Regions from separate parts of the Homo sapiens genome. Here regions 1, 3, 4, 5, 6 and 7 are each linked to region 2. Evidence: promoter capture Hi-C in 16 types of primary human blood cells and fetal thymus (Javierre and others, 2016). All regions are on one chromosome and are shown on one strand. Each heading gives the region's core, a stretch centred on a gene start or on the middle of the fragment in contact. The rest is flanking DNA. Distances are from core to core; before and after follow the strand shown. Region 1 overlaps NYAP2 (neuronal tyrosine-phosphorylated phosphoinositide-3-kinase adaptor 2). Region 2 holds the start of COL4A4 (collagen type IV alpha 4 chain). Region 3 overlaps NYAP2 (neuronal tyrosine-phosphorylated phosphoinositide-3-kinase adaptor 2). Region 4 overlaps NYAP2 (neuronal tyrosine-phosphorylated phosphoinositide-3-kinase adaptor 2). Region 5 overlaps NYAP2 (neuronal tyrosine-phosphorylated phosphoinositide-3-kinase adaptor 2). Region 6 overlaps NYAP2 (neuronal tyrosine-phosphorylated phosphoinositide-3-kinase adaptor 2). Region 7 has its middle 120 kb from the start of NYAP2.

Evidence for each region. Contacts are between HindIII fragments. The CHiCAGO score rates a contact against its expected background, and 5 or more counts as called.
Region 1: a contact is called between a fragment that was not itself captured here and the fragment with the promoter of COL4A4 in region 2, in 4 of 17 cell types (M0 macrophages, monocytes, M2 macrophages and 1 more). The highest score is 7.5, in M0 macrophages.
Region 3: a contact is called between a fragment that was not itself captured here and the fragment with the promoter of COL4A4 in region 2, in 3 of 17 cell types (M0 macrophages, M2 macrophages and M1 macrophages). The highest score is 11.3, in M0 macrophages.
Region 4: a contact is called between a fragment that was not itself captured here and the fragment with the promoter of COL4A4 in region 2, in 4 of 17 cell types (M2 macrophages, M0 macrophages, M1 macrophages and 1 more). The highest score is 9.5, in M2 macrophages.
Region 5: a contact is called between a fragment that was not itself captured here and the fragment with the promoter of COL4A4 in region 2, in 3 of 17 cell types (M2 macrophages, M1 macrophages and M0 macrophages). The highest score is 11.2, in M2 macrophages.
Region 6: a fragment that was not itself captured here is called in contact with the fragment with the promoter of COL4A4 in region 2 in 1 of 17 cell types (M0 macrophages); the score reaches 6.2 in M0 macrophages.
Region 7: a fragment that was not itself captured here is called in contact with the fragment with the promoter of COL4A4 in region 2 in 2 of 17 cell types (M2 macrophages and M0 macrophages); the score reaches 6.8 in M2 macrophages.

Annotation. Positions count from the first base shown.
Region 1 is chr2:225,593,280-225,596,901 of GRCh38, reverse strand. The region is part of intron 5 of NYAP2 (neuronal tyrosine-phosphorylated phosphoinositide-3-kinase adaptor 2); the gene reads right to left. Among named protein-coding and RNA genes, the nearest start is that of NYAP2, 200 kb to the right of the region's middle. The HindIII fragment of the contact is 873 bases long and covers 1,344-2,216 here.
Region 2 is chr2:227,161,872-227,165,833 of GRCh38, reverse strand. It overlaps COL4A4 (collagen type IV alpha 4 chain), which reads left to right and starts at 1,629. Exons shown (of 48, transcript NM_000092.5): 1 at 1,629-1,827. It overlaps COL4A3 (collagen type IV alpha 3 chain), which reads right to left and starts at 1,210. Exons shown (of 52, transcript NM_000091.5): 1 at 1,021-1,210. The coding sequence starts at 1,107. RefSeq lists silencers at 977-1,156, 1,377-1,756 and enhancers at 2,027-2,126, 1,401-2,302. The HindIII fragment of the contact is 7,891 bases long and covers 1-3,962 here.
Region 3 is chr2:225,649,358-225,653,322 of GRCh38, reverse strand. NYAP2 (neuronal tyrosine-phosphorylated phosphoinositide-3-kinase adaptor 2) reads right to left here. Exons shown (of 8, transcript NM_001371273.1): 7 at 1,788-1,891. Among named protein-coding and RNA genes, the nearest start is that of NYAP2, 250 kb to the right of the region's middle. The HindIII fragment of the contact is 2,269 bases long and covers 172-2,440 here.
Region 4 is chr2:225,630,701-225,634,608 of GRCh38, reverse strand. The region is part of intron 6 of NYAP2 (neuronal tyrosine-phosphorylated phosphoinositide-3-kinase adaptor 2); the gene reads right to left. Among named protein-coding and RNA genes, the nearest start is that of NYAP2, 230 kb to the right of the region's middle. The HindIII fragment of the contact is 8,057 bases long and covers 1-3,908 here.
Region 5 is chr2:225,666,826-225,670,894 of GRCh38, reverse strand. All of the region lies in intron 7 of NYAP2 (neuronal tyrosine-phosphorylated phosphoinositide-3-kinase adaptor 2), which reads right to left. Among named protein-coding and RNA genes, the nearest start is that of NYAP2, 270 kb to the right of the region's middle. RefSeq lists a silencer at 2,143-2,192. The HindIII fragment of the contact is 4,763 bases long and covers 1-4,069 here.
Region 6 is chr2:225,478,507-225,482,389 of GRCh38, reverse strand. The region is part of intron 3 of NYAP2 (neuronal tyrosine-phosphorylated phosphoinositide-3-kinase adaptor 2); the gene reads right to left. Among named protein-coding and RNA genes, the nearest start is that of NYAP2, 81 kb to the right of the region's middle. The HindIII fragment of the contact is 2,980 bases long and covers 218-3,197 here.
Region 7 is chr2:225,275,640-225,279,819 of GRCh38, reverse strand. No RefSeq gene overlaps it. Among named protein-coding and RNA genes, the nearest start is that of NYAP2, 120 kb to the left of the region's middle. The HindIII fragment of the contact is 1,264 bases long and covers 1,092-2,355 here.

The DNA of each region.
Region 1 (3,622 bases), core at 531-3,030, 1.6 Mb after region 2:
ATTCAATACCATGCAATCTAGCTAATAATTTTGCTGTCGACAACATGATATTCATTTATCTTGCTGCTTGTTACTTGCTTTCCCCAATCAGTAATGGGACTGACTTCTCTTTTCAGTATTATGTATAAGAATAATCTAAACCTGGATTCTCCATTGATATTCCTTGAAACATTTGGTTCCTAAATATCTTAACTACTGTTGATCTTGGCATTCTCTACAAAGCTCAGATTAAAATCAATATTGGTTAATCATGGCAATTCTATTGGATGGTGCTATTTTTTAAAAAAAATTAGCTTTAGAAAAATCAATAAATCTACAAATATAAACTGATTATGCAAAATTCAGTCACAGGGACCATGGAAATTTACAAAAAATATAAACTGTCCCTGCCCTCAAAAACTTACCATTTAATTGGGGAGGTCGGATGCATATTTGTTCACTCAAATAGTTGAACACATGCTGAGCATACACTTTATGCCAGAAAATGTGCTATTTGCTGCAATAAAAAAGACTCAGTATGTGTCCTAATAATTTAGTGGGGGAGGCAAATATTTAAACACACATTTACAACACTGTCAGTCATATGTCAGAAGAACTTTTTCATAAAAATGAAGGAGCAGAGTTCCCTTAAAAAGGAAGCAGAAGGGACACAGTTTTAAAATGATTACTAATGAGGATATCCTATTGCATGGAAATAAACAGAAAAATCTTAACATGTTAGGCAAGAGTGTGGCCCCAGCTACTTGGGAGGCTGATGCAGGAGGATTGCTTGAGGCCAGAAGTTGGAGGCTGTAGTGCACTATGAACATGCCTGTGAATCACCACTGCACTCTAGCCTGGGCAACATAGCCAGAGCCCATCTCTCAAAAAAATATATGGAATTATTTACATAGAATAATCAACAATATCAGATGTTTCATGAAGGTTTAAAAGAATCAGGAGAGGAAAAATGCTAGAACCAGAGCCCAATTAGGAAGCCTCATGTAACTCTGGGGTGAGTAGAAGAGGAAGCCAGTTTGTGGGAAATTAAGGCTGGAATGAGGGAGAAGAAATGGAGGCAGCAAGTACAGCACATTCACTTAAGTGGATTGGCCATGGAAGCTAAATGGAGAACTATGGCTGGACATAGAATCAAGCTTCTGTTTTATGAAACATCAGTGGGCAATTTGATTATGGTTTATATTAAAGAGCCATACACACAGCTTGGTTCAGATGCCAAAATGAATTCTGCAGGCTACAAGTGAGATTATCAATTAGCCAAAGAAAAACAACTGTGAGGTAATCTGCTTTAATTTCTTAGGTTTAAAACTTCTCTTTGACCATTTCAACATTGACAAAAAGCTTTCATTTGTTTGACACATATCTCTTGTCATTAATTATTGGTAAGTGGTTAATAACTAATGGTCAAAAGAATGAAAGTTGTTTGTAGATATAGACACAATTTGGATGTCCAGAATGTGTAACTTAAATAGAGCAGTACTTTATTTCAGCTCTGATCATTCTGTTGCAGGCTACTAACAACTAAATCCTTTTTCATCCTTCTAGTTTTTGGGGATCTAGATTTCTTAGTTGTGACATGGGAACAAAAAGATGCATTAGAATTATCCACCCATAGCACTATGGTTGGATCTAACGTTGGACAACACATGAATACCCCAATCTCTATTTTATGACTGCTTCTAGCTATTGTTTTTTCATCCTTATTCTTTCTTATCTTTATTATATCAGTTCCATCTACGAAAAGAAAAGCAAAACATAGGAAAATTCTATTTTATTGAATATAACTGAAAGTTGAGTAGTAGAATATGTATAGAAAAGTTTTTCCTCCATTATCAATTATCAGAAGAATATTACGGACTTCTGCATTGGAATTTTTTCCTTTCAGTTCAGCTGTTCTGGGTTCTTTTCTAGCCAGCTACAGCTTTACACGCTGCTTTACAATCCATGTAACTAATACTCCTTACTTCCCTCTTAGATTCCTTAATATTTTTACTTCTTCCATTTGGAAATAGCAATAGCCCAGATTTTTCAGTTGATTGGTTATTCTGCTAGGAGTGGAACTTTTAATTAACCTAGCTCCCACCAGCAACAACAATAATGAGTTTGCTTCTACCAAGAAATACCATGCACCACTACAGACATTTAATTAAATTTGGGATTGTCATCCATTTACTGAATTCCAAAAAAAATTATTTTATCAAAAACTGAGAAAAGCTTTTCAAATATTTTATAACTAAAATCCATTTTTTCACCAGGGAACACACATATTCAAGACCGCGAGTCACATAATGATAGCTTTGTGGATTTATGCAATGTCTTTCCAACAAAGATGTTAAATGACCTATTTGAATGTTTTTATTTTATTTTATTATTTTTTTTTAGACAGAGTCTCACTGTGTCACCCAGGCTGGAGTGCAGTGGCACGATCTCGGCTCACTGTGACCTCTGCCCCCGGGTTTAAGTGATTCTCCTGCCTCAGCCTCCTGAGTACCTAGGATTGCAGGCACCCACCACCACACCCAACTAATTTTTGTATTTTTAGTAGAGACAGGGTTTCACCACGTTGGCCAGGCTGGTCTCAAACTCCTGACCTCAAGTGATATGCCCTCCTCAGCCTTCCAAAGTGCTGGGATTACAGGCATCAGCCACCGCACCCGGCCATTGAATGTGTTTTTATTGTCTTTACAATTTTTGATCAATAATGCATAAGTTAAGCAGATTGAAATTGCTTCTTTAAAATGTTATTTTCTTTTTTTGAAAAAGGTATCTTTCTTTCTACAAACATAGAAAAGAGATCAATTTTCACAGCTCATTCATTTGTACCGAAACCGATGATGATTTGACCTTACAAAATGGTCCAAATTTAAATGCTTGATGGGCATATTCTTTATATCTTTCCCTCCAATAAATCTGCCTGGAATGGAATGGCCATTCTTTCAAACATGCCACTTAAGAGTAGAAGCAATGATTCAGCATTCAGCATAGCTGCTTTTTTGCTGAATGACTATATTGATTTTAATGTGGAATATTCTAAGTCAAACATAGAAGCTGATTTTTGTTTTTTCACTTAATGGTCAAACATTTCTTATATGGCTTTTTTCCCTAAAGTTCAATAGCCTTCTTAAGTGTGCCTATTAATTCAACAAGTTCAATAAATACTTATCATGTACCAACTTGGGGAAAGATTGTATTGGATCAAGTATTACAAAAAGTAAAATGATGAAAAGGTTTGTAGCTTGTTTTCCCTGGTCCTTTGTTTCAATAGAGAGAATCAGATAGAAATAATCTTCACAATGCATTGGAATAAGTCTTACATCATTCAAAAATTTGAAAAAAAGTAGTCAAAGACAATAGCATAAGAAAAACACCATGGAGAAATTGGTAGACTGAGTTGGGAGTCAAGGATTAGGCTGACATTTTTTTCATTAAGTTTCTGGCGAAGTCCTTTCAGCAAGGGAGAACAACATCAGAAGGAAAGTCTCAGAAGGAGGAAGGGGGTCCTCCCTTTGGAGATTTACAGATCAGCCAGTAATCTGCAGAAGCCCCACACAAGAAGCCAAGCCAGAAGGGACTCAGTTTTAGCATCTAATATTTTCATTTGAAAAGTGAGAAAACTAAGACA
Region 2 (3,962 bases), core at 380-2,879:
TCTGCAATGTCTTCATTTAATTTAAATAGGAAAAACATATAGAACCTATATGTGACCATAGGTTCTAAAATTCTTTTCATGTAACATATATAAATATTTATGTGACCGTTAATTTCCAATCATAATCTCAATGATAACATTTGTAAAAACATCTGCTCATCCTTGGAAATGAAATTTCCTATGCCACGTTATCACCCAAATCAACTTTTTAAAGTGTAAAAATAACAAGTATCTGAAAAGTTAAAGTTTACTTTCACAAGGTAAAATCAAGTGAGTCAACTCTAGGAGGCACAATCGTTTTGAGGACAATCAATTTCTATTTAATGGCAAAGAATAAGAAATATGGGATGGATTTAAATAAATCCAGTTTCACTCAAATTCCAAGTCAAAAATCAAATCAAAGTGTCAGATTGCTTAAATGATTCTAACCTGAGTTCGATTTCTAAGGTGCTCTTAATTTTTCAGTGATAGCATTTGCTTTTCCCAACAATAGCAAAGGAAAACTGGAGGGCAAGTTTTGCAAGGAAGAAACTGAGCCCCAGAGAGGTCAGGGTTTAGTGTGACGTCCCAGCTAGGAAGTGGCGGCTGGGACTCCCTGCAGGTGTCTCCTGCCAGCCCTCTGTGCGCTGGGCCAAGCTGCTTGATTTGATTCACCAGCGTGACACCGTGCATCTCCACATCCGGTGTTCTCACGTATCATCCCTGGCGATTATCTATGTGTCTATTTTTTAATTTACTGACCTCTGGAGGCCTGTCCCCGCCATCCCTGACTCCTAGGCACTGGACAAGCCCCCTCCTCGCCTCTTCCCCCAGCCCCGCGCATTCCACCTGTTCCGGGGCATCCCCGCTTGCTCCCTTCCGCTCGCTGCCTGTCCCGGGACCTGCGTGAAGCCCTCAGCCTCGCCACTAGCCCGGCAGCCGCTCCACTACCGCGCCGCTGCGGGTGGGGCCAGCGCGTCCCCCGGACGCGTGGAGGAGGGATGGAAGTGCGGGGGTGGGGGTCGCGCAGCCCCCACTCACCTTGCTGGCTGCGGGCGCCGCCGCCAGGAGCACCAGCAGGAGCGGCAGCAGGAGCACCTGCGGCCTGGGGGCGGTCCGGGCGCTCATGGTGGGCGCGCGCTCAGAGCCTGGGCGAGTCCGGGGACCCTCAGGCTCTCAGGCCACCGCGTCTCCTGCGCAGCGCGGCTCTGGGAGCCCGGCTGGAAAGCTCGCCTCGCCACTCGGCCGGGGCGGGTTTTGTAGGGCTCGGTCGCGCGGTTCGTCCCTCCCCACCCAGGCTTTTTGGTTGTGGCTTCAAGGGAGGGAAGACGTGGCTCAGGTCCCGCCCTCATACCCCCTCCCTCCCAACTTACCAGGCAGTGTCCCTTCTACCCGGGCATCGTGCCCAGGAGGCGAGAAAGGGCTGGGCGCCTGAGGGGCAGGTGGGCGCGGATCCAGGGTAAGGGGTTAAGGAGGTGATGCTCCCAAGGTCCGGGGGCCCAGGCGGGGAAGTGGGGTGCGGTCGGAGGTGGGGCGTTTGGGGGTGTGCGGTGGGGAGGTGGCTGCGCGGTGGGGAGGTGGCTGCGCAGGGTGGAGGGAGTGGCCAGCGGCCCTGCCCAGATTAAGCGGGAGGCGCGCCGGGCGTCTGCACTCGGGAGGCCCCGCTTGTTCCCCGCGCCCGCGGCGGTCCGCGTTCCCCGCCTCCAGCCCGCCTCCAACTTGCGGCCGCCGGGCTTGGCTGCGAGAGCGCCGCGAAGAGGCAGCGGGGCGCGGGTGGATTGGGGCTGGAGGTGCGCGTCCCGTGGGGTGGCAAGGCGGCAGCTCCTGGCGCTGCGGGCGTCCCCACAGGTAAGGCGCCCATAGGTGGGGCAACCGCTGTCCCGGGGCCCCGGCACCTGCCTGGGAGGGGCAGTGGAGGGAGCGTGGCATTCAAGGGGTGGTGGCGGGCCCAGCTGGGGAGTTGTGGCCCGGGGGTCACCAGAGGAGAGCGCGTCTGGCTCCTGGGCTTGTCTGCCTGGGCTTTAACTGGGTGCTGTGTGTTTTGATTAATTTGGAGGCTCGAGTTACCGGCCTGGCAGTCGGGGCACTCCAAAATGCCAAGAGAAAGAGGCAGCTGAGGAGAAAGAGAAAGCCCATCTTATTCTCCGCTGAGTTGAACTGCTTTTCAGGCCAAATCTTATCTGCGGAAATGCAGGGCAAAACAAGACTCAGCTCTGGTCAGGGTGCGCTCTTCCTGGGGGTGGCCTGCGATGCAAATGTGCCAGGGCACGGTCCTCCAGCCGGCTCTCGCCGTTTCCTGTGCTACGGACCACACTGGCTCTGGTAAAGCAATTAGACTGTTTCTCAGAAGAATGTTGTGAAATGCATAAAATACAATTAAATCAGAATCAGTTTTATTGGAATGCAATTATGGAAGTCCTCAAGTCGTGATATAGTAACTAACACAGGTGCATCATCATTATTGCATTAAATAGCTTGATTTAACAGCAGGCCGATTAAGCAACAGTAATGTCAAAGTAGTGATGTCTGCAAATGGTATTTTGAGATAATAGCCCAAACTGAAATGTGACATGAAAATACCGGTGGGTGCAAATTATCAAGAACTGCCAATACTACTGTGCTCTGTTGCCTGTGCTCATAAGGGAAGGACATGTTGAACTTCTGTGACATGTTACTAAAAGTAAAGATGCAACTTATTTTCCTATGTGAGTTTCCTATACAGATCACCTGAATTCCATCCTCAGGTTAAGAATCTTTGCTTTGGAACAGTGTTGCTGATATTTGCTGCAATTGGCTTCAGACACCAAGTATGATCATGCAGTTGGTCACTGATTTTAGGGAACCACTTGCTTGCAGTTAAATTTGGGATCTATTGGTATCTTAGAACTTTGTAGCCATGCAGGTAGGCAAAACCCTAACAGTGAATGAAGACACTCCTCCCATTCTTTTTATTTTGACTATAGCATGAATCTTACAGTCTTCTTTCTGTCTTTTATGCCAGTGATTCTCAACTATCGTTGTGCATTAGAATCTTTGGGAGGATAAAACAATGTTGCTACCCAGACCATTCCAAGCCAATTTTATCAGACTCTCTAGCTGTTTTAAAATTTCCTGTACATTCCCATGCACAATCAAGTATGAGAGCTCCTGTTTTCACGAACATGTGAAAATTTCACGCACATGTTGAATTAGGATATATTCTTAGTAGAATAATAAAAAGCACATATATTAAACTCTTCATTACAACTTGGGAACACTGCGGAATTTATGACCATATCGCAGATGTTGCTGTGTGGTATGCAGTAGCTTCTTTCCATTGGTAGGGAAGGTTCTTCTGGAAACTTCTGCCACTCTTGTGGAATGAAACGGTAGGTGTTCTGTTGATGAGGTGACAGTGTCCAAGAGTTCTGAGAGTCACATGATTATGTTTCACAAACTGACAGTATTTAATTTTAAAAAGTACAAACAAAAAAATCTCAATGCTAATGTTAAATGCTTCTCTTTGCCAAATTCCAGAAGATTCCTCAATTTGAATTTTAATTGCCTTTTCCTGAAACCAAGTCATTTTGTTGGAGGACTAGACTTGGTTTTATCAATTTTGGAACAGGAAGTAATAGTCAACTGCAAGTCATTTCTGTTGCAGATACAGAGCTGGAAAGAAACTTGTGATGTAAATACAGCAAGAAAGAGGCAATGCTGGAGAGCTTGACCTCTGGAGTAGACTCTGGAGTTTTGAATCCTTTCCATACTTACTAGTGTGACCTAACCTCTCTGGGCTGGAGTCTTCCTTCTATAAAATAGACATACTCACCATACCCACCTCAGGGAGTTGTTGGAATCTAATGAGATAGCAAAAACCCTTTGTGCAGAATCTTCACACAGTAGTCACATAGTGAAATTTGATTCTTTTTTTTTTTTTGTACAAAGGAAAATAGGTGGCCCTGATGAGAAATGGTGGCACGTGGTAGAGATGCTCTTCTGAG
Region 3 (3,965 bases), core at 57-2,556, 1.5 Mb after region 2:
ATAAAGACAACTAGGAAAAAAGCAAAACAAAACAAATAATACAAAACATCTCTGAGATATTGAAGGTAATATACTAGCAAGGGTCATAAACTTGAAAACTTGATTGTATTAGTGCAATCCTCTGCCAATTAGCTAAACTTCTCTTCTTTCAGTACCCAATGTTTTTAAGCTTTAAATGTTGGTAAGTACAATATTTTTGGAATAGCTTTAATTAGCTAAGTTGGCAGTTTATCTTATTTATTTTATTCAGTGTCTTACTGTTTCTACTTCTTTTATATCCAAAAAGTGTTTGAGTTGGTACATTTAGTTATAAAGGCATTTAACATTTATATAAAGGCATTTAAATTTTAAATTAAGACACAAGAAATTCTAAATGGTACTTGAGATACCCTTGAGAGAAGCCTCTCATTTCTTGTATTTGCAGATACCTCATATATTTATAAATCAACTATTTTGCATATTTAAGTCAGACAAAAACACTAAGAGGCACAATGTCTCTCATTAGAAGAAAACGCAATTATTCTACTTAGTTATGTTTTTAAAATAGCCTGACATTTAAAATAATAGATGAATATGTAATTTTCTCATCAGTAATGGGCAGTTCCCTTGGAGGTATCATCAGTGTTTTATAAGTTGCTATTTCAGAAGAGTTTCATGAATGCAAAGATTGAAGCTAGGAAGCAGAGAGAAAACATTCCAGAATGACACCACCCTACTTAACACCTATAATACTTAACAGTAACGACAATTAAGCCTCACAAATTAAGTCAATGTATTGAATTCCTATTGGGTGAGCTAAAGATAGGACATTTATGTGTAGTGATTTTTCCCCATACTAATTCCCCATCCACAACCACGTACCCAAACGAACATCAGAGCAACATATTATGCTGTAAAGGATTAAATGATATTTCAGTTTATGCCTTTATTTCTTGTCTCTTTTCTCCAAGTGATAATTGAGATCTCATTTACCATGCATGAACACTTACATTCCCTTTCTGAGAACATTTCTGATATTGTTGGTATAAGAGAGAAAAGTCATTCATTTAAAGGTTGCCTTATTAATCTGCAGTTTTTGTTAAATATCTAGATTATCTGGCCAGTCAATTTGTCTGGCCAGTCAAATTGTCTTAGGCCAGTCAATAGCCTAAGAAAGAAGAAAGACTAGCTGCCATACTCAATCCAAATGAATCGGGATATGAATATTTATAAGGACATCAATATTCAACAGTGTCTTACAGTCATGCTCCAAGCTAAATAAAAATAAAACCACCAGAAATATTACAGTATAATAGGATAAGAGCTAAGAAATATGTACAAATTCATTGACAACATCTGTGCGAGTGTTCTGGACAAAACATTTAAAAAGAAATCTACATAAAACAAAGTAGATAAATTTATCAAATATTGATAAATTTTCAGAGACAGTATAAAAGTACACAAAACATGAAAGAGAGAAAGAATTTAAAAAAGAACCACTAAGCCAATACATATAGTACAAGTTTACTACATTTATATTACAGAATGATGGAAACCAGAGACAAAAACGATTTGGTAACAAACAGCAAAGAAAGTTTCACCACCAATCACAAGGAAGAAAGATATTCTTTTTCAAATGAAAACACAGACTGCCAGAACTCATCCCCCGCATCCCCTAACCCATACACACATAGAAAAATAAAAGCAAATGCGAAAGTTGTCTACAGCAACAGGACAGACAGAGGTGGGAAGCATTTGGCAAGTTGTATCACAGGAAGTCAATCACGATTGGCTAACGATGATGGTACCTGGCTCTGTTGCAGGTCACTGCTTTGCCTGAGGGGAGTGACTGATGGAGGAGGCACACCTGACGTCGACGCAGACCGGCCTAATTTGCAGCTTACTTTAGGCTCTGGAAACAAGCGGAAAAAGACACAATATTAGCTGACTGACATCTGGAATAATGAAGTGGCTTTTCAGTCTTTCTGTTTGTTTCGCTACTTATTCTTGGAATATACAAAATGCTCCTGATGTTTGCTAATAAGTAGCAGGTGATAAAACACTTTCATGGCAGTTGACTCTAAAAGGAGCTTTATACCCAGATTGGCTTCTGGGGAACAACTCTCAGAAGCACAGGCCTTGTGCCTTTGCACATTTTACCTCACTTAGGGTTGGTTTCTATGGAGTCATCCCTGGAGCAACAACAACCCATTAGGAGAACAAGCAAGTACCATGACTATTTTGAATGTTTCACTTTTAGCTTTGATCCGTAGGATTTCTGTGTCCTAAAATGTCTTCTATCCCTTCTCCAAATGTTCTGTTTTCCTTCCTTCCATGAATACTATCATCATGTTTTCAATGTAACATTTCTTCAACTCATCTTGATTTTCATTAAATTTTATAACTGTCTTCCAAGACTTTTACTATCTTTCATAATATTATTTTTCCAACTTAAAAAGCTTTCTCCTACCTCTTCTCTAATTTGAGGAGCCCAAATTAGCTGCCTAGGCCACTGACAGGATGCTTTAGAGATTACAGTTTGAGGACTGAAAGAGTTCCCTTCATCCAGAAAGTACAGGATATTTGGGAGGTAGAGATGATTAATTTAAAGACATATTTGAAGATATTTGACAAAGGAAAAACAAGTCATAGAAAGAAAAATGGACATTTATACTTTATCACAAACTTCAGTGTAAGCTGTTGGTTTTTGAGTGCCTAGTACATTCCAGCTTCTGTGAGGAGTTACACCTAAATTATCTCTAATCCTAAGAACTCTCTTTGGAGCTACGGAGTTAGCTATCAATATCCTCAACTTACAAATTAGAAACCTAAGGTTCTCCACATCCAGTCTTTGCCTAATAAATAAACAAGTGCTTTTCAAAAAGCCTTTCTTTATAAACTTGACCTAAAAATTAAACTCATCGAACAACTGGCTTTAAATAATATGACATAACTACGGTACTGAGAACTGACACGCGTGCCAGAGAGCCAGAATGTGCCCAATTCCGTTGGAAGAAAAGAAAATGTGTTGCTCACGCTGGGGAGGTGCACTATCCTCATGCCATTTCTATATGAATCGCACTTCAGAGAAAAGCATTGACTATATCTGCATTGCATGAATGGTTCACTGCCAACTTCAGTTTCCATCAATTGCCTTCCACTCCTCCACTCCCAACCCCTCTCAGACACAACATGCAGACACACAGAATGAGTAAGCTTACGCCTACTTACACACAGACTCATACACTCTCACCCATATGCACCTTTCCTCTCTCAGTCCTGTTTCCACCTATTCAACAATGCTTCACCTCTCTATTAATATTATTCTCCTAAGGGAACTAATAGTTTTCTTTCTTGGCAAATAAAATAGTGTTTTCTCTGTACTTCTGATTTAGAGGAAAACAATAAAAGACAATAAACAAGGTTTGGACTTAGAGCTAATTTTGAATCTGACTCTGCTAGGTGTATGATCTTAAACAATTGTTTTCATTATTCAAGTTTTAGTTCTTCTCAAATAAAATGAATTTAGTCACTTATTCAACATTCGGCATCTATGTATTTTATGCCTACTATGTGCCAGGAACTTGCCAGAGAGTTGTGACCAAAATCCCAATATTGCCCTAAGGGACTGCACAGTCTATGCACTAAACATAGACATTAAACAACAAATGATGGGCCAGGCACAATGGCTTATGTCTATAATCTCAGCACTTTGTGGGGCTGATGCGGGTGGATCACTTGAGCCCAGGAGTTGGAGACTCCATATTCTAATGACGTTTATGTATTCTCAGGGGAGAGACATTAAACCTAAAATCATTTGCCAAAAATTAGGAAATATGTTAGAAGGAAGACGTAGAGGGTGCTGTGATATCATTTATCAGAGTATCCACTGTGTTCTGGGGAGCAGGGCAAGGAGAGACCCTGAAGAAGCTGCAGTAATTAACACCTGCCAAAAGGACTGAATGGGCAGCAAAATCTGAAGTGGG
Region 4 (3,908 bases), core at 1,200-3,699, 1.5 Mb after region 2:
TTAGTATAGAATTTACAAGCACAGTGTGTAAGAAATGGCTTTTTTTTTGTTTTCTTTAAATGAAATTAAATCCACATCTGTTTTTCACTTTTCTGAACTTGTGTGTACAAGACTCCTCTTGGATATGAAGGACTGAATCATAAATGATGATGGAAAATGCTTCCCTACAATGGGTCATGAAGTCCCAGAACCGTTCTGCAGAGCAGAATATATAATATGGTCCTCCTAGTCTTTAGCTCATACTGGTTGTCACGTGAGGGGTCTACTGTTCGAGCACAAAGAGCCCCTTGAAGTACAGAATTCCATATTTTGAAGGTTAAAACCATATGGCGCATAAAGCCCAGCCTATGCAAACTCTACCCCACCCAACTTCTCTGCCAGTTAGAGGTCGTGCCATTTTGCAAGGGTGCTATGAAGGATTAGGCTGCTGGCCCTCACTATTCATGGAATTCTAAACCTCTATTTCTCTTTTAGTGCTAAGGAATTCCCCCTTCCTTCCCTGGCCATCAAAGGCTGCATGTCTCTCTCTTACCAGTGTTGCTATTGCTAGCATTTCCTTGTCCAGGAACAGCAGCTTCTGGAAAATAAAAGCCAGGAGGACAAGGTATCTACTGGGACCTACTGCTTCCAGTAGAAAGCAGCTTCTCTGTGCCACAGGGTCAAATCCATGCTTCCACCTAATGGTCATCGCTTGATTTTACAAACCAGAAAATGCAAGTGTGTGGTCTTCGGGTCTTACCCAGCTAAAAGAAGTGAATTATTCTACTCAATTGTTTTCTAAAAATTGAATTACATTTAAAAGTTGGGAGATTTCACATAATAGCAGTTAAATCTGGGAACCCTGGGTGAGCATTTCTCATGGCAGCATCAGCTGGCACTGAGTAGCTTTTGTCCACTTGGGGTGCCCCTATGCTTTCCAGGTCACCTGCATTTCCATCATTGAGTCCTGAGGTGCATCAGCTTGCAATAGATTTTCCTTGTAATGGAGAAATATTTCTCCTTAGCAATGCTTCTAACAAATGTGGGAATATAGAACTTAGAACAAAAGGGCTTCAAGTTTCAAGAAAAGTGGGAAAAACATTTTCCTTTGTGGGAGTAAAGTACATTTGTAAGTGTTTCATGTATAAGCAAAATACATGAAGGAAGGCATCTTTCCTGCTTCACTTGCTAATGATACCTGTCTGTCCTGAAGGCATCTCAATTAGCATCTCATCTTAGACCTTTTCAGAACAGCAGAAGCACAGAAAGTTGAACACGCAGAAACCAAGGGTTTTATAATATAGCTGATCCTTCCCTTTATAGTGTTTTCATTCTTTTTAGATTTAAATGTTACACTATAAACCCTGTTTGCCTATATATGTCTGTGTGCATGTGTGGGTATGATACCACTTTGTTCATAAGCCAAGGGCTGAGTTTACTTCCAAAAACACTTCTGTCAGGGTGGCCCAGCAGGGCCAAGCCAGGGCAGGTGTGTCTCTTCACCTTTTTCATCCCATGTGGAATATTCTCTTTCCACTCAATTGATAATCATAATGATTTTTAAGAAGATCTAGAATAATCCTGATGTGAGACTCCATGTCTTCCATTAATCTCTCCATCATTTTTCAAGCCTACACTAATTAATTGTTCTCTGAATGATTTTAAACGTATAGTAAGCAGTAGATAATAATGAAAATAATACATTTAATTATAACCTAATTAATTTGTGTTCAATAGTTCTGTGTCATAAAGAAACATAGTAAAATTTTTGAGGGTCACAGATTGTATTTTACAGTCTGTGGGGGGTAGGTGTGTGTGTCCCCAGAAACCATAACAGAGTTGGATACAAGCTGTGTGGAAACTATTTGTTAATGGGTTCAGTGGTTGAAATCTGAGTTTTTGTCAATACCATATTTACTTGTATAATCTCCTCACGCTTTCCTATTATGTTCATGAGCATTTGGGTCCCAGTTCTCCACTGCCTTCAAGAATCACCCTGTGGGGAATCTGTGATTTACTAAACAACAGTGACTTTAACGAAGTACCCCAGCAACCAGTGTTAATGTTAATTAGAATTGAGATCTCCTGACACATTTGCTTTACTTCAGCAATTCCTTCATTCCTCAAAAGAGCTGTTAAGAACAACCATTTCAAGTGGCTAAACTACTTTTGGTAAAGCAATAGCCTGTGACTGGTAGAAGTTTGTATGTATATCAGTGTGGAGGGGGGACAGAGAGAAATAGACGCAGAAGCAGAAAGTTGACAGAGGAAGGAGGGGTTTATAAGTAGAATCTTCTTTCCTCTCTAGTGTGAGGTAGGAAGTTGAGTACCCAGGGGCAAGGAGGCAACAATGATGAGGAAGTATAAAGAGAAGGAGGAGAAACAGTTAATACTGACTCATTGTCTTCTGTTCCAAAACAGAAAGTCTAAAACTCCCTCTTGATGTACCTACTTGCTTATTTTGGACAGAGACCATCTCATTGATGAATATTCAAGTAGTGCATGGTTTGCTTAAAACACCAAAGGTGGCCGGGCAATCCCAGCACTTCAGGAGGCCGCTTAGGCAGGTGGATCACCTGAGGTCAGGAGTTTGAGACTAGCCTGATCAATGCGATGAAACCCCGTCTCTACTAAAAATGCCAAAATTAGCCAGGCATGGTGGTGGGCACCTGTAATCCTAGCTACTCGGGAGGCTGAGGGAGGAGAATCTCTTGAACCCAGGAGGCGGAGGTTTCAGTGAGCTGAGATCATGCCATTGTACTCCAGCCTGGGTGACAGGGTGAGACTCCATCTCAAAAACAGAACAAAACAAAACAAAACAAAGCAAAACACTACCAAAGGTGAGTGTGAACTTCAGATACTCTATACATTTTTGCCATTTTTGGCATTTTCTAGTTCAGAACTGGCACCATTTAGGTTCTTTCTCTTCAGAAAAATAAAAGCTAACAACACAACATTTTTCCCTTTCTCCTTTTCTTTCCTGAAAAGTAGTAGAAGGGTAGACTAGAGGTTCAAGTAATGGTAACATTAATTTGAGTTTCGCTTTCACATAAGCAACTGGCTTGCACTGACATTATATATGTAACTCTACACTTGCCCCTCTGTTTTGCATTTCTTCTAATATGAATACAACCATCTCATTATTTAAAACTTAACAGAATTTATGTCTTCTTCCATCTTTGCCTACCTCCTTCATAATCTAAGATAAAGAATACATACTAAAAATATGTATGTCATTTCTTCTGGTCAGTAGACAATTTCCTGCTCTACAAACAACACTAAAAACCTCAGGAGGGCAGATTTTACATGCTGTAAACCAAAAGAGATGCTTTGGGGTTTTGATATGGAAGAAAGTGAAAGTATGGTATAAATTCTGTTTACACTCTGAATTTATTAGAATATTCATATCAAAGTGTAAAGACACTGTACGGTACATGTTTATCAAACTATATGTAACTTACTAAGTGTTCAAAAAAGTTTAATTATGGACTATCTAACTGTTTCATTTCTATGTATTTACCCACACTTTGAAATGTGTGGATTTCCCCAGGGTGTCATCTGAATTTCCTGCTCTCCTAGTTTAGACTCATCCAGTCTTACTGTTCTAACCACGCCAAAGGAGTCTAGTCTCAGTTTTGAATCCACTAAATCTCTTTAGCTACAGATCTATAATCTGAACAATCTACTGGTTTCTCAATTTGATGTCCCAGAGCATTTCTAACTTAACATAAGCAAACTGTAAGTCCTGACTTTCCCTCGTAAATCTTGCTCCGCATCTCACATTGACAGTCTCTATCTCAGTAAATGACTTCCCAGTCACCCAAGTTTAAAGCCACAGAGTCATCATTGGGTGTTCCATGATGTAAACTGAATTACATTATCCCTATCCTTAAAAAATAGTAAATAACTACAAAAATATCCAAATATCC
Region 5 (4,069 bases), core at 738-3,237, 1.5 Mb after region 2:
ATAGACTGGATTATAATGTAAAAATAATTTTTCTATGTACTGGAAAACCAAAAAATTATTGAGACTTGCTTTATTGCAATATTCACTATATTGCCATGGTCTGGAATTGAACCCATGATACCTCCAAGGTATGCCTGTAAACAATCCAAAGAAATCTTAGCAATATTGATTTTAATACAGATCCCTGTCATTCCAAAACACATGATAAACAATGAATTACTGCTTGATGCTGCCAAAATGATTGCTGAAAGCCTATGTAGGAATTTTTTTTTTTTTTTTTTTTTTTTTTGGAAAATACTGAAGACGTTTTCCCAGGAAGGACATAAACTAATGCAATAGCACCCCTTTGTGGTGACATAAGGCTATAAAAATCATAACCAAGACCATTAATTTGTAAGGGTCTTTTTTAGAATTTCCTGCAGAATTACATTGAAATGGCCTAAAGACTCATTTAGTAATCCTTTCCTTTCTCTTAGGCAGAACCACACTACTATCATCTCACCAATATGGAAATTTACTGTGGTTTTAAAGGTCTCCAAAGGAAAGATTGCATGACCTCTCCCCGTACAACATTCCAGGGTTCTGCTTTCAGGTCTAATAAAAATAACTTGACACACGAGCATGCACCCATTTCCTCTAGTTAAACCTGCCTCTTTGGTTGAGATGAGAACCAGATGGCTGTTATCCTTTTTATTCCTTGGCATCTATGTACACCAACTGTGAAGGCCAAGGATACAGAACCATAGCAAGATTGTACAAAATGGATTTGGTCAGAGGAAGTAATCATGACCTATCTATAAAACCTTCCAAAGTAGGGCCTGCAAATACCACTTCTGTTTGGAGCAGAAAGTGTTTTAGTGGGCCAGAATGTGCAAAGCACATTTCTTCATTTGAAGAGCTCTTCATCTTCCCCTCATGTAAGGTGAATCGCTGCAACCTGGGTGTACTTCATAACAACCCGACTCTCCTTGGAGGAGGTGTGCTCACACTGCTTTCAAACAACTTGAGTCTTTGGAATGATCGTATCTATTTATTTAACCTTCTTGCCCTTTGCACATCATCTGACTGCTGGACAGAACGGAAATAAAAATTGTTATTTTTCTCTTTTTAAAGTCTAACACAATTACACATTTTCTACTACTGAACTGAATGCTACTTTGAATTTTCTCCATTTCAGCATTTTAAATATTAATAAAATTTTGATTTTTTTGTTATTCACTTTAGCAGTTCCCAGTGGTTTTCAAATTATAGAACAAACTGAGCTCTTCCCAGAACATTCTGGATATTTGTTTTCATAGGGTTGACATTACAATACTGTGTTTCTTTCTTCCTTTTTTTTCTCACTAAATGATTTTTTAAATTGTAATCAAGAAAAATAAGTTGTTGAAAATGTAAGCTGCCAGTTTTATCTCTAGTTAGGGTTTATTTTTGTAACACATAATCAGTTGAAATATATAGAGATTAGCTTTGCCCATTTTTGTCCATACGAATGAGCTTTTAAGGGATGAATTAAACAATGGTGTCTTATTTGTAGTAGGTAGAGACGTGATGTGCAGAAACCTACGTTAAGGCCTTTCATTTTAAAACAATACAGGGTAATAAAAGCCAAATTCACGTGCCATAATGACTTTTGATCTCTTTTGTAAAAAGAAAGAGATAGAGTCATGAAAAATAGTAATAATTAACATCTGCTCTGTATGTTCATGTACCACATGCTTTATGCCTCAGGTAGATAACATACATTGTAAAAGAACAGCCAACTTCATGTTCCTGCCTGAAACCTCACTGTAAATAAAATATGAGTCAGACATTCATTATGTAGTTTTTGGTATTCATACTTGTCCTTAATCATCCTCTATTACGTCTGTAGTTAATGCATATGCAATCAATTTTAAGCCATTAGCAGCAAAAAAAAAAAAAAAAAAAAAAAAAAAAAAAGCAGGGGACACCAATTAGGACACAATTTTTTTCTTTATTTATTCCTGTGTATGTAATTACCTTACATTAATAGTTTGACTTGTCAAGTAATTTCTAGCCCAAATGAATGGAGACATGTTAACTTTGGAGATCCTCTCCCTCCCTCTAGTGGTGATGAACTGCACAGGAAATCTTCAGTATGTGTTTGCTCTATAATACCCAGGAGAGTGCAGCTGACACACACACAGGAAAGGACAGTGCATTGAGAGTAAGAAGAGAGGGGTTCAAGGCCGAGATCTGCCATTACTCTGTGAACTTGAGATTTCACTTGGCCTTTTGTTTCTCAGTTTTCTCATCAGAGATGGGATAATGATTATGATTTGCAGGACTGTTGTGATGGTCACATGAGAAAACATTAGGTCAAATATATTTAGACATCGATAAAACATAATTAGATTTCTTCTTTTTCTAAGAGAAAATACAAGAAACATAATATACTCAATCCACTGATCTGATCCTCTAATGGAAAATCTGAGGCAGCCCCCATGGCCTCAGTCTCCTGGTACGCAGAGTATATAGAGTAGACAAATCTAGAGAGAGTCTTATTGATGTTGTGTTCAAACATCAGTCCCAGTGATGAAACCAACTGATGTCATCTGCTGTGTGACTCTTGGAGAAGGTCATCACATGTAGTTTTCTTGCTAAGCATGGTGAACTCAAATCTAATCACAAGAGAACAATCAGACAAAGGGACATTCTGGAAAAAAAGCAAAATCGTTCTGGACTCTGAAAATGTCACTTATCTTGAAAGACTAATGAGGTTGGGAAGTATTTGTGATTCAGGAGATTTGGAGAAACAAAGAAAGAAACTGAAAACTATATGTAATGTCGTATCCTTGATTGGATCCCAGACTGGGGAGGGGTATAATATTGGGGCCCTTGTAGAGATTTGAGGATTCCCTTTATATTAGATGATAGTAGGTAGTAGTGAATTATTATAAATTACCTGACTGCTTTTTTGAGTTTGATTGTTTAGAAGAATACACTCGGTCTTAGGATAGTCATGTTCAAATATTCAGAAATGAAGTGACATTATTTTAAAAAACTGTATGTGTTTAAAAGCACACACATTATACTAGTCTTCCAACCGTGCATCTGTAAAGCATCTCTATTAAGGTATCTCTATTAAGTAGTTTCAAAAGGAAAATATGAAACAAATGATTGCTCTTAGGTATTCTATCCATTGAAGATTCATTTGGGTTAAGAATGCCCTCTTTTGTAATGCTAATTGTTCAGGGAAGGGCTCTCTTCTACAATCCCCCTGTCATCTGAGGCTTAAGTGAGATGATCTCAGGGAATCAGAATTTAAATTAAAAGGAGACAGCTCCTTAGCAAATTTCTGTTGACTTGACTTTCTACGTGAATCAGCTTCCTCAAAATGGGAGTAATAATGATCATGCTTATGGTTCCTAATTCTCCCAGAGCATTACCACATGCTCTTCATCCCCTAATCATTTTTCTACAATTTTTCCCACCTCAACATTTGTTAATCCTATAATGCTAAACTGCTTGCATTTCTCTGACAAATTGTATGACTTCAGACTTCTCACTCCTTTGTAAACTGTCTTATGTCTGACTGTAAAGGCCTCCCACCCACTCTTATTAAATATATATGATATTTATATTTATATATTCACACACACGTATTTGGCTTCTTTATCAGGCTGAAATTTCTTTGAACACAGGAGTTTGTCATATCAACCATCTTCAAACTCAAGCATCTAGCAGAATATCTGGTGTTTAGCAGTACACAACAAGAATTTGTTGGCTGAATACAGGAAGGCAACTTATAAATTCTGAAGTCTGAGGACTAAGCTCTGATTTTTTTAGCTTGCACAAATTCCTATCTAACGGGTCTGGAGAGTCATGCCCTACAAACCATAAATTCTCATCAGAATGGTTTTATTTAACCCTATATACCGTGACTTACTTTCCAATCTGACCCTGGCATAACATTACATGACAAAGAAGAAAGTCAAAATATTTTACCCCAAAACATGTTTCTTTGCTGTATTTTGAAATGGTCCTGCAAAGCTGTCCTCTGTGTGTGTGTTGGGGGGGTGGGGGGGCATGGAGGGGGGGGAATATGTAT
Region 6 (3,883 bases), core at 458-2,957, 1.7 Mb after region 2:
CCTGCAAGCAGCCACACTGTACACTACTCTAACAGGCACCATTCTATTACCAATCCTTTTTGTTCTCAGACCACTCATCTCACACACATGAATAAAGGAGGTGAGGGCAGCCCAACAAAATGGCCCCACATTTTTATGTGCAAAATCAGATAGGAAGATGTTTTTATAATGAAAAAACTTTAATGGAGCTTTCTGTAAAATCGCAGGTAGTGAAGCTTAAAGGGTTTTAAATCAAGTCACTGTAGAATTTTATGTTAAAGGAATAGAATATAATGGAATAGGAATTATTACTATGCATTATATGTAAAAATAAGATATTTTTGTATACTGTGGCTTCATTTAATTCTACTCTCATTACAGTATGCTATAAGTGTATGTCACATTGCTTTTTGTTAATCATCACAGTTGCCATTGCATGTTTATTTGTGTATGTGTGTGTGTGTTTGTTGTTGAAATTGTTGTTGTTATTGATGTCTCTCTCTCAACTAAATCACAAACTGCAGGGGCCTTGGGTTTGCCTCCTCATTCTTATTTCCAGCACTTAGCACAATGTTGGACCAAACTAGGAATCAAAAATATTTATTGAATAAATGATAAATGGATGCCTAAGGGGGTGGAACCTTGCCTCCCAAAGGCCCACCCTGACCCAGAATGTCACAAACTTCATCTATTTTGCATTTGTGGCTTTCAATATATAAAATATTCAGTGATTTTTCAAACTTCAAGAAATACTACTTCATATTATTGTTTGCAAGAGAGAAGTAGCTCACAGGTAAACATTATTAATTTAAATAAAAAACCTGAGTTTGAAAAATTAATAAATTAGTAACCGGTCCCATAAGTTTGTTCTCCATGTGGTTGTTCATGATCAATTAAATTCTTTATTAGCAGGTCAAAAAGTGAATAAGTAAATATGTTTTATGTTCAAACTTAATGTTGAAGTTGAGAACAAAAATGTAAAGGTAACAAAATGTGTTGATTCACTGGACTTTAGAGAGTATTATTATCCTAGAGCATTTTCTAACAAATACAACAGTCATTAGATTTTGACAATAACTAATAGAGAAAATAAATAATTATTATTATAATTTGACCATTTAGTGAAGAGAATTTGACCATGGATGTAAACACTGATAAAAGTAGAGTTATAAAAAGTACATGGATAACCTGACTGCTTCTTGAGAGATGATGAATTATATACAGGATGACACTTTTAATTGACAAATATTTCTGAGGAAAAGGTTTTTTAAAGAAAGAAACAGTAGAGATCAATAGTCATCATCCTACATTTCTCTGAGTTTTCCCTTTGATTTCATGGAACACATTAAGAATGATTCTGAAATTTCAAAGAGATGTCAACTTAAGGCAGAAACGGGAAGGAAAATATAAAGTTATGTTCTTGAGACTCTTGTTGAATTGTTAGGGAGTCATTACATCAAAGACATTGTAAATTAGCAGAAGGGGTGTTTACTCTCAATTTAAGATAGTTAATTCTGAAAATATCTGGATACATGGATCATGTTGTTGGACTAAAGTATAGCAACTATTTTTTAAAACAACTAGTTTTAATGTAAAAACCATTTATATAAGAAAGAAAACCAAATTGTCTCCTCATTGTTCAGATCATAGTATACAAGTTTTAAGTCATCTTCTCAAACACAGCTCCTATATGTAATTCTCCTGCTTAAATATCTTCAATGGAATCTATTTGACCATTTATTTTATTTTTCCCTTTAAGATCCTTCTTGCTATACCCTCAACCACTTTTGCACAGCTTCACAATATATCCTATGTCCCAATCACGCAAATACTCGCCTTTCTATGAAGCCTGCATTTTTGTGCCTCAATATTCCTTTATGCTATTTTCCTTCCTCGGCATGTCCATTTTGAATGAAGTTCACTTATCTACATTCCTTCAAGTGCTAGCTCAAATGCCCTTTTAGTTAAGAAATATAGCTTAAACTCACCCACTTGGTTTTCATCTTTCTCTCCTTCATATCTCCATTATGCTTCCAATTTTTAACAGTACATTTTGGTTTGTATCAGACTTTCATTTACATATCTATCTTCCCCTAGTATACATATATAAATCTTAGATGGAGGAGATCATTTTTTTCTTTCTAGAATTTTACCACACCCACTCTTCCCAATAACACCTGTCATGATACCCACATGTAGTAGACATTCAATAATATCTATTGAATTTTTAGTCTTAACATGAAATACCTTCTAAAAATTATTTTCTAAAAATTAAAAATGTCTCAGGCTGCCAGAAACAATTGTCTACATTAGGAATTCACAGATTTACAGAAGTTTGGATTTCCTTAGAAAGTAATACATACTTTGATTGACTTAACTTTTACCAAAGTTACTTGGCTGGTAAAGTCCAGTGACGTCAGTAGACAAGTAAAAGAAGTAGAAGAATTTCTTAATATATATTCACCTTTGGGATTGTTTGAAAATTGAAGAGAGGAATATGGAGGTGCAATACTATTTTGCATTAAGAAAGATGCTTTGAAGAAAATAGGACTGGGGAAAGGGAATCACATTGGTACAAATTTGATGAAATTACATGTAGAAAAAAATTTAGATGTTTTTCCTATCCTAACAATTTAGCTAAATTTAACCTCTGAATCGTCTGAAGTTTGTCCTTAAGAAAAAGCTAATCATAGCACAAAATATACAAGGTGACTGCAAATGCAAATATCTTTGGTAATTACTGGTGGATTTAAAAAAAAAAACTATGGTACTTTGGAATTCTAAGCATTTTCACAATGCATTGGAACCGATTCAAAAATGCTATTAGAAGTTATTATTTTGGCTGGACCACAGGTACCATGCAATGCTGAACTTTTGGCATGTCATACTCTTTTATTAAAGGACTTTTGGTCTGCATATAGAAACAGTGCCTTTTAACTATTTCAATGGATCACTTAGGATGGTTCAAATCATCTAGACCTTTTTCATTAAATATTCTTGCTGAGATTCACTTAATAAGTAGATCGTGTTGGCATAATCTAATTCACTGAGGTACAGTGTTAATTTAGGACAACTTATATTTTAAATTAAGAGTCACTAACCTGATTTTATAAGAATAAGAATTTCTCATGCAAATTATACCAAATTCAAAGGGATGGATTTGGTGGCAGTGGATTTATAACCAGATTTTTCTTCTGGCTGAAGAGTAGAGAGAAGCTTATGTTGCTGTAATTCTTACTCTTTCTTCAAATATCTCCTGTTCCTTTTTCAATCTTTTCCTATTGTTTTTTCCATTGGCTCCCACTCGTTGACTGTTCCCAAGTCACATATGAACATATTTTTCTCCCTCAATATTCAATCACATCTGCTAGTACAATTTTAAAACATATTAACACCATAATGCTGAATCTCTTATTTTTTTTCCCAATGATTGGATTCTCTAGCAGCATCTTAAATTCACAGGTCAAAGCTTTTGACTTTTGTGTTTGGTCCATGAAGAGTCATCTTCCAATCCTTGCACAATATTCAGATCATGCTCCTATACTAATAGGTGATACAAGAGATATTTTGAAATTTCCTGTAATGTTGTTTGAAAAATACTTTTTATATCAGGATGTAATGCCTGCTTTTCTTCACCACCCTCCAACAGGGTCCTGAATTACTCCAATCTCATGTTCCTGAACCTAGCTTTCAGGACCATTGTATTTTCATGAAAATTTGTCATCAATTTTGTTTTTTCCACAGATTAACCTTGAAAAAATTTAAGGTCACGTTGCCAAGAATAAAAACAATATGAGTGATGGACTGATTAGAAAGGGGTATCCCCACCTTCAGGCTTGAAGTTGGATTTGGTTCTGGCAAACCTGTCTTATGGTCCAAGACAAAAAGGTAGCATATAGAAGAT
Region 7 (4,180 bases), core at 474-2,973, 1.9 Mb after region 2:
ACCTCATGTGGGTAGCTTGAAAAAAGCATTGTTGGGAATATCTGTGCCTTGGAAATCAGCAAGCACCACAAACTGGGGCCTTATTTTTTTCAGAGAGCCAGTCTACTGCCACACCACTGGATTAAAAGATAGAATATGAGCTGTCTTGGTCAGTGCAGGGTGCAAGACTGGAGGCCTTATAAACAACAGAAATATATTTCTCATGGCTCTGCCACCTAGAAAGTCCAAGATCAGGGTGCCAGTATGGTCAGGTTCTGGTGTGGGCCCTCTTCTGCGTTGCCACCTTCTCTTTGTATCTTTGCATGGCGGAAAGAGAACGAAAGAGCTCTCTGGGGTCTCTTTTATATAAGGGCACAAATCTCATCTATGAGGGCTCCACCTTAGTTAGGAAGCCTCATCTCTTAATATCGTCACATTGAGGGTTAGGATTTTAACATGAATTTGTGGAGGGATATAGACATGCAATCCATAGCATGAGCATTAGTAATTTTAGAAGAAGAGGAGGCCATCGTCAGAGTCTAAAATGTGGACATTTAATATTAGTGACATAGAAAATGAGGAAAAGTTTCAGGATGTTTTTGTTTCATTAGATTAGTTAATTAATTAGTTATTTCATTAGTTTTTAAAGCCTGAAGCTGAAGCACAGAGAGAAAACCATGTAAATGGAGTTCCAAGCTATTGTAGTAGATGATTTATAAACAAGAACATTAAATTTTCCTAGGTAGAGGGCAAGAATCTATTCAGGCAGTCAAATCTCCAATTAATTAGATGGAACAATTAGAAATTAGATAAGTGTCATCTATGAGGAAAAGGAGAGAAAATGACATCATGAACCTCAAGAGAAGAAGAGTAATGTTTCTTCCAGATTTTCCCAGACTTACTATATTTAATAAGATTCTATTCAACAGACTTTTATTGTTCACAATATTATGCTAGATGTTAATATGGAAAGGAGCACTTGATAATTAATAATTTAAACCTTCATATGAAACATTATTTCTCTTGTAAAACATTTAAAATTAAAGATTTAGTGGCAAAAAAAGGCTACTTTTTCTTAAAATTTTGTCCTGTGAACCCCGTTGGTAAAAGCTTGCTCATTTGAATGTTGCTAGGGAGTTGCTAAGGGATATTGTACAGAGAAATTTATTTTGCATTACCTGTGATGACCCATGATGAAAGGAAAAATGCTTATTTCTTTTTTGAAAGAGAGTTAAAAAAAATCAGACCATTCCTAGACGAATGCTTAATACCCAACAGGCATGCAAGAAATATTTGCTGCATTGTACAGCATCTCACTGAATGTCCTTCTCTTTGGAAGATATTCATTCATTAGCTTATATTAATTTTTATTAACTGGCTTTAATTTTTATTTGATTGTGATGCTACTAACTTGATTGTGATTATTCTTCTCCTGTTTCTTTTCTATAAGTAGAATGACAGGAAATTCCTGAGTAGGGAAGGGGAAAGTAGACAACTTCTATTGGCACTGGCAGAAAATTTTAAAATACCCCTCGAGCCAGGTGCATGACACATGCCTGTAATCTCAGCCACTTGGGAGGCTCAGGAGGGAGGATTGTTTGAACCCAGGAGTTGGAGGCCAGCCTGGGCAGCACAGTGAGACTCCAATCTCTAAAAAATAAAAAATTAAAAAATTAAAATACCCCTCAAATGTCAGCATGAAGGCCATTATCTTATTATGTCTACCCAGAGAGCTGCCCTTAGATTAAAAGTTCCTAAGCTGTTTTGGAATAAGCACCCTTTCAGGACATGATAAATACTGTTCGTCCAAAACCCAGTAAAAAATAATTGTTCATGTTATAGTACAGAACCTCCCCAGCTAATAATAACTGCTCTTAACCTTCCAACCTTGTTGCTTTAGTACTTTCTCTTAACTTCTGCATCCAATACTACTGCCACCCCTCTTGTAGCCCCTTGAAGGCACCACTCCACATCATGACTTATTTCCTGGCCACAGACTCTGTCCCTCAGGGCAACAGATCTTCTAGATGTTAACTCCCAGGAGCCCGCGTTGCAGAGAGGTCAGCCAGGATTGGGGATGCACAGACCCTCCCCACTCTCTCTCAGTTGCATGCTGTCACTAGAACAAAAACATACCTGGCTGTGGGTCTTTGTCTCAGAATTACCCAAGGCAACAGCTCCTTCCATTTCTGTTTTCACCACTCCTGTTCACAACACCATGGACCATTATCCAAGAGAAACACCAGGCTCTCCTTCACCCTATCTTTTTCCACGGCATCTCACAAAATATTTTACCTCTCGCCTTAAGCCCCAAAAGATTCTATTTACGAAAATATGATATGAAAAAGCCTAGAAAGACACTACAGAAGAAAAGCTTTACTGATGTCATAAAGAAAGATATGATTCTATGGAGATGAAAAGAAGAAATAAAAAGATGGGAGTTCTCGCTAAATTATTGTGTGAGTCTAATATTGGGGTGAGCAATGTCTAGCAAAATCTCAATGATACTTTATATTAACAAAATCATTCTAAATTTTACCTAGAACTTGAGGCATGAAGAAAAATGTAGGCAATGATAGAAAACAATTGGAAAAAAAGTTATTATGGAAGAAGGCATTCTATCATTTATATAAACATTTAAAAAATATATAGGTTAAAAATTATCTCAAAACAATATAGAAGAAATATATTATTATAAAATGTTTTGTCTTAGTTGTCTGAGTATTTTGAAAATAAAAGGTAACCATACCTCTACCATATCAATTATAGGTAAATTATAAAACTGAATATTAAAAAAACTAACTTAAAACATAAATATTCAACAGGTCTTTTCAAGAAGGAAGTTGTTAAATGTAATGAACAAAATATGAGAGAAAAAGAATGCATTATTTCAAAATGTTCCATTAAAATTCATAAAGAAATTAACAGGCCAGGCCTGATGGCTCATACCTGTAATCCTAGCATTTTGGGAGGCCGAGGCAGGAGGATCACTTGAGCTCAGGAGTTCAAAACCAGCCTAGGCAACATAGTGAGAACTCATCTATATATATGTATATGTTTAAAAAAAAGGAATAACCAGGTGGAAACTAAAAAGTTCATTGGTAGGAAAAATAATGACAGTAAATAAACTTGAAGTTAAAATGATTTCACTCATTGATGAGGGAAAAACTAAATTATCTTGTAAGAGAAACCTCGGCATTTTACCTTATCCTCTCAGCCAAAACCATTTCAGTGAAATTTGAACAATTCCAAAGGCCAGCACCTGCATCTCTTTGCCCAAGGGCTTTCTCCATTTCATCTGGTAAAAGTCACCTCTTCTTGCAACCCCCAGCCAAGGAATAACAAGAGTAAGTAATGAGCCCAGCTCTCTAGTCCTGCAGATGGGATAACTCTGAATTTCTCAGTTCTGTAATGGGATTAAAGTTCACCTGTCTGTGCTGACAATCTGTTCAAAATGCACACTTAGGGGATTTCTTCTGTCCTCGTTTCATTTCCCCATTCTCCTACCAGCGTTTGTCAGGATTAGCAACCAAATTAACTGCTTATTTTCATATCCTAGCCTCATAACAGCTTCGGGTGAACCCAAGACAGACATTCACAAAAAAGGTGGGTTGTGCAGAGACAAATCATAAAAGAAGAAACATTGTCAAAGGTAAATTTATTTTGCCTCACAGGTTTCAAGGAAATGAACATTAAAGGAATAACTAATTTTTTTAATTAATCAGATTGTCTAAGATTTAAAACTAATCCTCAATGTTATAGAAGCACTATTCAGGGAATCCTTTTATACTCTACTGATGAGAATACAAATCTATAAAAACCATGTAAAAAGGGAATTTAGCAAAATCTATCTTTCCAAAATGTTTACACTCTTTTGCTCATTGGGTCCACTTTTATTATTTCTTTATTCATTTATTCACTAAATTACATTAAATTAAATGTGCTTTGATGCAAGGCATACTTTATGCTAAGTATAAAATCAGAGACTAAGGAACCCTAAGTGCAAACTCTCAGAGTGTTAGTTATGTTAGAGGAAACTAGTAAATGTGGAGGAGGCAGGGTTAATGAAGGAATAGACAAAATTTCCTTAGATTCCCTTATTTGTCTCCATTCCTCTTGGTCTGATATTGCACTGCCCTCAAGGTCCTGGCTCTGATACATGCCCTTGCTTAAGTGTTGATGTCTCCTGCTGGCCTGATTC